Regions from separate parts of the Homo sapiens genome. Here regions 1, 3 and 4 are each linked to region 2. The links are contacts of gene promoters, found by promoter capture Hi-C in human tissues and cell types (Jung and others, 2019). All regions are on one chromosome and are shown on one strand. The core of a region is centred on a gene start or on the middle of the fragment in contact, and the rest is flanking DNA. Distances in the headings are between cores, read along the strand shown. Region 1 overlaps LRP1B (LDL receptor related protein 1B). Region 2 holds the start of LRP1B (LDL receptor related protein 1B). Region 3 overlaps KYNU (kynureninase). Region 4 overlaps LRP1B (LDL receptor related protein 1B).

Region 1 (2,700 bases), core at 81-2,580, 590 kb after region 2:
AGGATCTTGCTCTTTCACCCAGGGTGAAGTGCGGTGGTGTGATTGTAGTTCACTGTAACCTTGAATCCCTGGGCTCAAGCAATCCTCCTGCTTCAGCCTTTTCAGTAGCTAGGACTACAGATGTGTGCAACCATACCCAGCTTGTGTTTGTTTTTAAGGAAAGAAAATTATATGGTGTAACTTTTTTTTTTTTTTTTTTTTGAGACAGGGTCGCTTTCTTACCCAGGCTGGAGTGCAGTGACACAACCTCAGCTCACTGCAACCTCAACTTCAGCCTCCCGGGCTGAAGCAATCCCCCTGCCTCAGCCTCTTGAGAAGCTGGGACTACAGGTGCATACTGTCATGCCTGAATAATTTTTTTTTTTTGTATTTTTTGTAGAGACAGGGTTTCAGGATGTTGGCTAGGTTGGCCTCAAACTTCTGGGCTCAAATGATCTCCAGCCTTGGCCTCCCAATGTGCTGGGACTACAGGCCTGGGCCACCATGATTGGCCTTGTATAATATTTAAATGTTCAAGAGGGTATGCAGTGAAACTAAGATTATCTGCAAATTCTTCCTGACTACACAGATTCCTCTCCAAGAGACAACCAATTTTACCAAGTTCTTATATTTGCTTATCTTCATAGTAATGGATTTCTATCATTCACGGGTATATTTAGGGTATATGGATAATAAATATATTTAGTTTTTACTCAAATAGTAGCAAACTGTCACGTTGTTCTATACCTTACTCTTTTCACTTAATGAGATAGTTTGGGAATCTTCTGCTATCAGTACATAAAAAACTACCTTAATCTTTTTTAATACCTGAATACCATATGTAACTTTTAACCTTTTCTATGTAAGTTCTTATTTTCAATAGGACTGCAAATAGGCACTAAAAGAAATTAAAGCTAGTTTAACAGAACTATTCTAACTCTATTAGTAGGAAGGAATAGAAAAAAAGGTCATCCACACTTGCCTACCTTAAAAATGAGACAAAGAGAGCAGAGTTTGAAAATGTTCTACCTCTTCCTAATCTGCTGCTAATTCTGTTTTAATACCAGACCTTTACATGATTAACAGTATTATATTCCACATTATCCTGCAATACTTGGAGGCTCTAATTTTTGTAATGTCTTTTTATTTAGGAAAAAGTTCAGATGAAAAATCAAAGCATACAACCTTCTATATCAGAAGTATGGTAGATATCCATTACTATAAAGATAAATATAATATTTCAGGAAGTCATGGTATTAATTTGCTTAAACATTATATGAGAAGAAGTAAAGCTGCATATTTTTAGCCATACAATCTCATGTTAAATATAATAAAATATTTGAATAGATATCTTTAATATTCTTTCCAAATGTGAATTTTAATAGGATGGGAATGTTGACATTAAAAATCATAGAAAGCTTATAATGTGCCAAAAATCTGCCCTAATTCTTTTAGTTAAATTACTTTATTTAATCTTAAAAATAAAGTTAGAAAGCTGGTATTAGTATATTTATTATACATATAAAGATACTGATGGAGAGATGTTAAGTAACTTGTTCAATCTGCAAAGCTTGCAATTGTTCAAATCTGCAAAGGTGTAAGGTTCACCTAGTCATAAATCATATGCTTTCTGTCTGATTTATTCACCATCATTTCATATTTGTTTATCGCAAAAAGAATAGAACATTACATAATTTGAAGTGAAATATTGCAGGAATAATCTTTTAGGGTTGACTCAATGCCAAAAAAGCAAAGCTATTAGAAATTTGCCATGATGCCTGCCATAACTTCTAGAAAATTTCCAGAGACTTTTCCTCCTACAGCAGATATTATGTAATATATATTTAGCAATTTACAGATTTCTAGCTTTCCTCACATGAGAACTTCTTTGAAATGCTTTAAAACACATTAAAAAATAATAATGGAGAATAGAATGAACTTACATTTGACCATTTCTAAGTATCTATTTATGTATTCTATTAGATTACATTTTTTAAAAATATTGTTTACATTTATTTATTTTAGCCAGAGACGTACTCCAAGTTAACTCTAGTTTATAGATTGCAAAGAATAACAACTTGATCTTGTTTGAATTCTAACACTCACAACATGTGTATTATTGAATACATGGGACTGAGAATTAAAATTGAGCTATAAGGATTGTGCTCAATCTGTATGTGTGAATGTTCATAGCAAAAGGGGACAAAAGAGATGAAATTTGACATGATATTTTCACCAAACGACAAACACTTCATGAACACGCTGGACATTGGATTTGGTGGTAGTTAACTATGAATATGAAGAGTTTAGATTAAACAGAGCTTTCCAAATTACTGTTTTTAAGACTTAGCTCAAATGTCATCTTACTTGACAGCTACAGGCAGAATAATTTCATCTGTCTTATTCTTCCAAAGCATGTTTAAAACTAAAACATAAATCTGATCTCATGTCTGTCTCAACAAAAGATGAATTTCTGGATGGCAGAGTCCACTTTCTTGATTATGCCTGTATTCAAATACAGTAAAACACCTGGAACCTCTATTGGAAATGTTTGTTGAAGAAATTGACATTGTTTGAATTTTAATAATTCCTCCATAACCTATTGACTTTCTTTTAATAATTAAGGAGTAAGTAGACTTGTTATTCATGTTTTGTTATAAAAAAGCTCCTTGTTTGGAGGGAAGATTTTAACTTGAATGATATCTTTTGGAATATGAAAGT
Region 2 (2,700 bases), core at 160-2,659:
AAATGGTTGTATTTTCAAGGGAAAGTAAACTTTATAATTTAAAACATGGAAAAAGTGACATAAAATACATTTATAATCACAGAGTAAGAATAAAAAGGTGAAATCCACAGATTATTGACAATGTTCTGCAAAGTCATCTCTGTGTTCTTTCATCTAGTCCAGTTTTTAATGGCTTCAAAGGAGCATCTAAAGATATTTCTGGATAATTTTACTCTCATAAATAGGTAGATAGTAATGCTGGCATTCACTTATAAGTCTCAAACAGCAAAGTAAATAAAGCTTTTAAAGCATCTTCCTTCACTTTTCAATCGTTCTCTTCCTTAGTTCTGTTCCCTTCTCATAGTTTTCCTCTCCACTCATGTCCAGTTTCAAAATATTAAATATAAAACCTTTTCAACTCTTGTTCTTAGAAGAGAATTCCTGATGTTACAAGGAAGAAAGTAAGTCTACAACTATTAAGATTTCTGAGTTTTAATTCCGTAGCCACTTTGTAATGGCAAACTAAAATTTTAGGGACTGGGATGATCATGTTGTAAACTTAAGTGGTCATAAAAACAACTTTACTAATATTATTATTCCAGTGATTCCCGTTGATGCCTCCGATGGCTCGGGAAAGTTCTTACACCGCCCCTGTAGTATATGGAAAAGGAAAACAAAACAAAACACAAAACAAAAACAACAAAACCCTCAAAGCCTGTTTAAAATGGCTCGAAGTACCCTTTTAAAGACAGAACCCCAGAGAAAAACGCTGCCAATTCGTTGCTTTATTGTTCCCTGCCTGGGGACCTCAATAGCCTTTTCCATTAACCTTCCCTTCTTACGCAACGGTTAATGACTTTGGGGGTTGTTTTGCTTTCTGTTTCTGCTGAGTCACTAAATTTTGCCTCTTTGTCCCCAGGTGCTGCTCAGCATAAAAGTTAAAAGTGCAATTCAGGAAGTACTGGGATTCTGTGTAGAGCCGAGGAAACCATTTCCCTAAGAGAAGCTCTGTTCCTTGGCTTGTCCTTCCTTCCCGGGAAGGAAGCTTCCGAGGAACGAAGGGAGAAGCTTTGTTTTGCCTGCAGAAGCAGCCCTGTGCTCGGCTGAGGGTTCTCAGCTGGCTGTGAACTGCGGAGCATTGTAGGCGCCTGGCTGGCTCAGGCCAATGCAGAAGTCTCTCCCTTCTCCAAAGACCCAAATCCCCACAGAACCAGCTTCGAGTTACTTTCCCTTCAAGGGGATTAAAATAATTGTGATTTGTGGCGCTCTCCGTTCGCGGTGGTATTTTCCTGTTGTGTTAAATGCCTCTTATTAAGTAATAGATGTGATTTATGTGAACGACGAAGGGGTGTGTGGTGGATTCGGTGATTAATCAGTGAATTCCCATCCGCTGGCATCTCTCACTGCCCCTCTTGCGTGATGTAAGATCAGACGTACCCTGCATTGAAAAGTCAAGACACACGGGCGTCTCGCTCGCGCTCACACACGCTCTGCCTCCTCTCTCCCGCACGCGCGCATCCCTCCACCTTCCACATCCTGCTCCAGGCAGGAGAAGGCTGACTGGCTGGACTCATTGAGCTGAAGAATTTCCAGTGACATTTGTAAATGACGCCGCTCGATTCCAGGCTCCAAGCGGCCCCTGCCGCCGCCGCCGCCGCCGGGCCGAAGGTGCCGCCGAGCAGTCTCCAGCGCAGGCTTCCTTACCGGGCGACCACAATGTCCGAGTTTCTCCTCGCCTTACTCACTCTCTCGGGATTATTGCCGATTGCCAGGGTGCTGACCGTGGGAGCCGACCGAGGTAAGGAGAACACCTCCCCGCTCCCCTCCCCTGACTTCCTTGGCTTTCCTGCTGGGCGATGCTTGCAGATAAGTGAGTGTGAAACTTAAGTCCTTGCAGCTCCGCTCCCCGGGACCGGGTGACCACCGTGCGCTGGCCCTGTGCGGGGGTGAGAGGTGCGGTGCGGGATTTCTGAACCAAGTGCCTGAGTCCTCGGCACCCCCACAGCTTTTCCCTTTGGCCGTTTCCCGGTCCCCATTTTGTCCCCTCCGGGAGTGTGTGCACTTGGCTGTGCGCTTCTGTCCGCGAATTCTAAGCGCTGCAGATGTTGGAATGAGAATTCGCATTTCCGAAAGACTTCCCTCCGCGATGGCCCTCAACTGCGAGCTTTTGCGAGCTCCAGGTTCTCCGCGTTAAGCGTGTCCGCCCTCAACTTAGCTCCCAGGTTAACTTCCTTACCTGCTGCATTCGAGGTCCGTGGAGCGGCGAAAGCGCCGATTCAGGCCCCTTTCGTTTCTATAGCCCCTTCCTGGGGGCAGACTGGGGTCAGAGTCCTGTCATCAGCAGAGAGGCTTTTAGGACGATTCCGGGCGCACGCACCTGCTTGAAATTGACTTTTCGATTATGAGGGTCTGTGACACAGCCCAGGTGCTCTGAGGGGCTAACCCACCCCTGGAGTGCCTCTCTCCAGTCTGGCGCTTTGCTTTTCCTTTTTCTCCAAGCAGCTGGTGAATGGTAGAAGTTTAGAAGGGAATGGATATGGGGAGCAGAGGAGAAAGGAGGTAGGAATTAGAAAAAGCCGGGATTCTATAAACTTTTCATCTGGAAAATCAAGAATCCCTGTGCGAGTTTAATAATCTTTGACAACAGATGCACTGGTGAAAAAGGGAGGAAAATACTAGATGAATATTTGGGGCACTGGCCCTGGCCTTGGAATGGTTAAC
Region 3 (2,717 bases), core at 89-2,588, 860 kb before region 2:
AAGTCAGTGTTCCCCTGAACAAATGTGCAAAAGACGATCTCTTCATACAATGTTAACTGTACAGTTGGGACAAGCATGGTATAAAGTTATAATTTTTTAAGTCTTTTTGCTGAAATTTCTGGATGTTTATTTTTATTCTTTCTGGGACTTTCCTGGGAATTGTTTGATGCATATTGTTTTTCTAATGTTGTTGCCAAATAGTAACAACTCTTATTTCTTAACCATGCACTGAAGTCAGCCAGCCTTTTCAACTGGTTCTTTTTCACCAGCAAATTACTCTTTACAATAAAGGAGATAATTCAAGCCCTTAATAAGGCCTTTAAAATGTCATCACTGTTTAAAACTTTCAATCAAATACCTCTAGCTGATTATGGAAATGTGTTGGCATGATTTAAAATTCAAGTATTTTTATCAAAATTGTCAGTCGGCCCCATTCTTGCCCATTCAAAAAAGCTCAGAAGAAAAGTATCCCAAGGGAAATGTGCATTTTAGGAGAATCTAATACAATGGGCACATGTGGAGGTTTGCTACACCAGCGTGAAGAGTGAGGAACAGCAGGTTTTCAGTATGTATGATTTCACTGGCTCACATAAAAAAGTAAATGATAGATGGATTTGTAATACCTCATATTATCCACTCCTGTTTTCATAGTAGACTCTCTATTAACAAAAAAAGAGGGAGGTGGTATCTTAAATCGCAATGTATGGGCTCTTACAGAAGAATCCTTTTAAAGGATTCACAAAGCTTTGAATCCCCTAAAGTTGAAAGGTTAAATAGTCCTCTAAAGTGTGCCATGAGGGTTAACATTTGTAACTTTTTTTAAAACATTCAAAATTTACAATGTTATTTAAGCATGTTTTTAGTGAAACATTTCATATTGTCAAATTTGTACAATTAAGAGTAGTTCCCTTCATATTTCAGAGCAATAATTAACTGTGTAGACTGAATTAAAGTCTACCTTGAAGTGGGGCAAAAACATCCAAGAAGTCATGACCAGTCCTAATTTATTGTACAGACAGAGTTTAGAATATGACATTGCAATGAGCTAAGTTAATAATGAACTAGGAAAAGGTTAAATTCTAGGTGAGAATAACAGCTTGAGTTATGATGCTTAATGCCGTGCGTTGACTCTGGCCTCTAATTTATTCATTCTCTTTATGGGCAAAGGGCTCTTGGAAAAGCCTTAGGTCATAGGTTTTGAACAATGTCCAAAATGCATATTTAAACAAAAAAGGAAGTGAAATCTCTTGGTACAGATGCAATTTGCTGTTTGCTAATGGAAACATCACATAAAGGACTATTTCAAAAATTATATACCAAATATTAGACTTCTAAAATGCAATGTTATATATCTGGGGATACACTCTCTACACCAGGTGGGTCACCCATGCTTATAATTCCTTTCTTAGACCAGCCTTCATGAACTGTTAAGCTTTCTGTTTAACCAAGCACTAAGAATGCCCCCTCAGGTTTCCTTCCAATTTTCATCACATTCTACCTCTTTATTGAAGGCTTAAACTGCACAATTATTGCACTATCAACATATAGTCAAATTGTCAAAAAGAAGAACACATAATTCAAACATATATACTTCAAAATACTTGTTAAAGAGTGAATGAGTGGACCATGAGAAGAAATGTTATTTCGATATTATTTATTTGAAATAACATGTTTAGCCACTAGATGTCACCCTTTTTAAGCAACAAAGACTACTTCACAAAGTGTGACATCAATAGCAGTTACATTTGTTCCACTGTATTTGATGTTCTCCATATGGTTCTCGGCTACATACTGGACACTTTAACAGTGAAAAACTCTTTGGTCTCTCTAAAGCTCTAAGAGAACAGAAAAGTAAGATGACAGAAGGCTTATTAAACATAGTTAAACCAGCTAATCGTGGAATGCTAACAACTGAAATATAATTATTAATTGGCAAATAGAGTCAGTAGTCATACAGACTCTAAAGTTTACTCAAAGTTTAAATTGGATTTGACCGTGGAACTATAAATATTATTCACAAGAAAACTTCCTCTCCCCATCTTCACAATATTTTATGTATGGAACATTGTCGTAACATCTGAACAATTACACTTATTTGAGCAGCGTGATATTGTAGGCTTTTGGGTCTTTTCTTTGTTTATCACTCTTCTCACAGGTGGTATTTGATTTTCAGGTGAATAAAAAAGTAAAACACACTAAGGGACACAAAGTTAAGTTTCAGCAAAACATTTCTTTTCCTATCAGGGACAATGAAGTGATGACTGGAAAATACCTTGTCCTTGACTTGTCCAAATCTGTTGCATTCCATTCCTAATTAAAGAACTCCGATCTCCTAATGCAAATGAAGTACAATATAAGATACTTGGTACAGAATAGAGAGCCAAGGCTAGAAGTTGACAGCACTGAGATCAGTCACTGACATCACTTAAAAAGAAGCTTAGGAGTGTGAGAAAACAATAAACAGAAAAACAACCAAGGTTTTCCTTAACGTGGCCTTCATGAGTCAAGCCTAATTTAAGTCCCATAAATTTCCATGGCTAAATTGTTAAAATGCAACAACAGCTAATAACATATAATTTTCCAAAAAACTTAAAAGCAAGGTTCTCATACACACACAAAATAAACAGCCATGAAAGATCTCATTCAACCCACTAAATAGTGGCGGAATCAGTAAGATGGTAGGAAGGCCAGAATTCTTTCTTATAGCATATAAGAGA
Region 4 (2,700 bases), core at 86-2,585, 560 kb after region 2:
TTTGTTTCTACATATAATAGAAAGTAAGATCCTTAAGGAGCAGCAAGCAAGTCTTAAATATTTGTCTTTATTGCTTAGCATGACTCTGGACAGTTCTATGCTTTTAGTAAATGTTTGTTGAAAGCCTGAATAACATGGAAGCTATTCAGTGATAAACAACTGAACCAATAATATCAGGCACAAATTTGGACAATCACCGTTTGCTCCCCTATAGCTCCCTTTGGCAAAATCTACAACAGAAGAAGAGAGGCAAAGTTCTGCCTTCTTTACTGTTTCCAATATAAATCCAGGCTAAGCCTGTATTAGGAAATTGGTTTCCTAGGGGCCCTTCCACATTTAACCCTAAGAAATTCTAATCAAGGTGAATCTTTAGTAGTCCAGATTTAAGGTCTGTTTAGTTTCCCAGGTAAAATAATGAAAGAGTTCATAAGCAGATTTCCCACATACCTAATGTAATTTCAGAGCATATTCTAAACACTTAGAGAGTCTCTTTTAACATATAATAGTCATCACCTAATTTCTCATCTTTTCTTATTATTTAACATGTAAAAGTTAGGAGAACTCAATGACTTCACAGCAAATACTTTTCCTTGGTCAAATCTAAAAATTAATGTAAATTATAGGTTGAATGCTTTAAGATGTCATTAGGAAACCTACGTAAAAAGAATTGGAAACAGAAATATGGCAACTAGGTGTCCTGAAAATGATTTACTAACAAATATTTTCATATCTATTGGTTTTTGTTCTTTGAAACAAATAACAAAATCCTTAGCCTATGAATGAAGTAGTTATTTTTAGGTAAATGTTTTCTTTCCTTAACAATTTTATATATAATTATTGCAATTCTTCTTGGATAATGTTGTCTTCAGTAGGAAAAAAAAATGATCGCAATTTGTGAATCCTAAAGTAATTAGAAACATGGTCTTATAAGTTTCCTTTCCTTAGACATCTGATGCCATTGCATAGTCAAGGAATTTGGGAGTTTTGTTCAATCAAACTTGCCCTTTTAAAAAGTTTTATTTATAACAACAAACACAATAGAATTATAACTGAATTATACTAAAATGATTTCCTCTTTTTTCTAATTTTCTAATCTTTTTTCATGATCTTCCTATGTAAGAATGCTAGCTGTTGCTGGCCAGGTTGATTGAAGCAAATTAAGATAACCCTTAGTGAACTATAATTATTAACAATGATACAATTTCTTTAAGCAAATTCTGTTCAAAGTGCCTTTATTTCTAGGAATTTACTTTAGTTTTATTTTTAATTTTTTTTAAGAGATGGGAGTCTCAGTCTCTTGTCCAAGCTGGAGTGCAGTGGCATGATCATACCTCACTGCAGCCTCAAACACCTGGGCTCAAGTGATCCTCCCATCTCAGCCTCCAGGGTAACTGGAACAACAGGTGCATGACATTGCACCCATCCAGGAGTTTATTTATAATCAGTAAGAATACTTAATGAGAAAGGGGATGTGGTATTTCCATTTCTTAGATGAGAAAATTAAAACAAAGAGAGGTTGGAGATTTTATATTTATTAGATAGTCACGTTTCACATGAAGTTACTCATACTGGAAGACCACACATAATGGAAAACAAATACCAATAAAGAATGGTGGATACATTTGCATGCCAGTTACACTGATAGAAGATATACAGTTCACCATCATTCTGTCTTCCATATGGAAAATTATACAATTCTTATTAATTTTTAAATTTTATGGGAATGCTCATAATTATGTTTTTGTGCATAAAGTCACTATTTCTACTTTACGTAATTCTCAACATGTCTGATTTTATATAATTTCATTTACTATAAGTGAAAGTTACATCGTTTCTTTAATTATTTCTTCTCTTTGACAGCTTGGGTTTGTTTTTGGCAGAGTTTTAATTTCCCAGTCTGCCCTTTTTTGTTGTTGTTTCTGCAGATTCAGGAGGATATTGGAGGGATCACCTTGCTAGTTCTTTTTTCTTTTTTTTTTTCCTGAAATGTGGCTTAGTGGGTTGACAAAGAACAGTAGTTGTTAAAGTATTTTAATAACATTTTCTGCCAGGCATATTATTAGTGGAAGGTGATTTGCAGCCAGAAATACCTATATTTGAATCCATATAAGGTCATTCCTTGCACCTTTAGGCAAGTTACAACCTCTCTTATAAAATAAGAAAAGCAGCTCATGACTTGGTAAAATAAAGAAATGTAAAGTGCCAGGCAGAGTGCCTGGCAAAAAAAAATGGTGCTCAATAATGTTAGTTATATTTTCAATTATGATTGACCTTAAGAAACTGGTATTTCCAGAAGCACAGCAAGAAGATGTGAGATGAAAGTCAACAGTGATTAAGATTTCATTTCCTGATTAAATATACAAACAGTGTACCTCTTAACTTACCATTATGTAACTTAGTTTAATCTTGGGTTCTGTTTATCCTTGAACTGATATATTTTGCCATTTCATATACGCGTATGCGTAAAGCACAAAATAGTGCAGGAATGTTAGGAAGTGTGGAATGCCATTAACTTTACTACTAAAAGTTTGGGATAAATGAACTACATAGGTAGAAATATGAGTAAGATAGGATGTTCATCCCAATAAAATGATAATAAAATCTTTATTGCATCCCACATCATTACCTGCTGTATTTTGCTTATGTTGGATATAAAGAAAAAAGGTATTGCAGACTCTTTCTCTGCAGCTCTTAAAAGCC

Evidence for each region. Contacts are between HindIII fragments. The study calls those that stand out against the background at their distance.
Region 1: a contact is called between a fragment that was not itself captured here and the fragment with the promoter of LRP1B in region 2, in 1 of the 25 tissues and cell types used here (hippocampus).
Region 3: a fragment that was not itself captured here is called in contact with the fragment with the promoter of LRP1B in region 2 in 1 of the 25 tissues and cell types used here (lymphoblastoid cells).
Region 4: a fragment that was not itself captured here is called in contact with the fragment with the promoter of LRP1B in region 2 in 1 of the 25 tissues and cell types used here (mesendoderm cells).

The regions. Positions count from the first base shown.
Region 1 is chr2:141,541,020-141,543,719 of GRCh38, reverse strand. All of the region lies in intron 2 of LRP1B (LDL receptor related protein 1B), which reads left to right. Among named protein-coding and RNA genes, the nearest start is that of LRP1B, 590 kb to the left of the region's middle. The HindIII fragment of the contact is 4,219 bases long and covers 1-2,700 here.
Region 2 is chr2:142,129,725-142,132,424 of GRCh38, reverse strand. It overlaps LRP1B (LDL receptor related protein 1B), which reads left to right and starts at 1,409. Exons shown (of 91, transcript NM_018557.3): 1 at 1,409-1,777. The coding sequence starts at 1,696. RefSeq lists an enhancer at 342-1,541. The HindIII fragment of the contact is 3,160 bases long and covers 1-2,489 here.
Region 3 is chr2:142,988,460-142,991,176 of GRCh38, reverse strand. The region is part of intron 10 of KYNU (kynureninase); the gene reads right to left. Among named protein-coding and RNA genes, the nearest start is that of KYNU, 110 kb to the right of the region's middle. The HindIII fragment of the contact is 3,561 bases long and covers 1-2,717 here.
Region 4 is chr2:141,565,437-141,568,136 of GRCh38, reverse strand. All of the region lies in intron 2 of LRP1B (LDL receptor related protein 1B), which reads left to right. Among named protein-coding and RNA genes, the nearest start is that of LRP1B, 560 kb to the left of the region's middle. The HindIII fragment of the contact is 3,131 bases long and covers 1-2,700 here.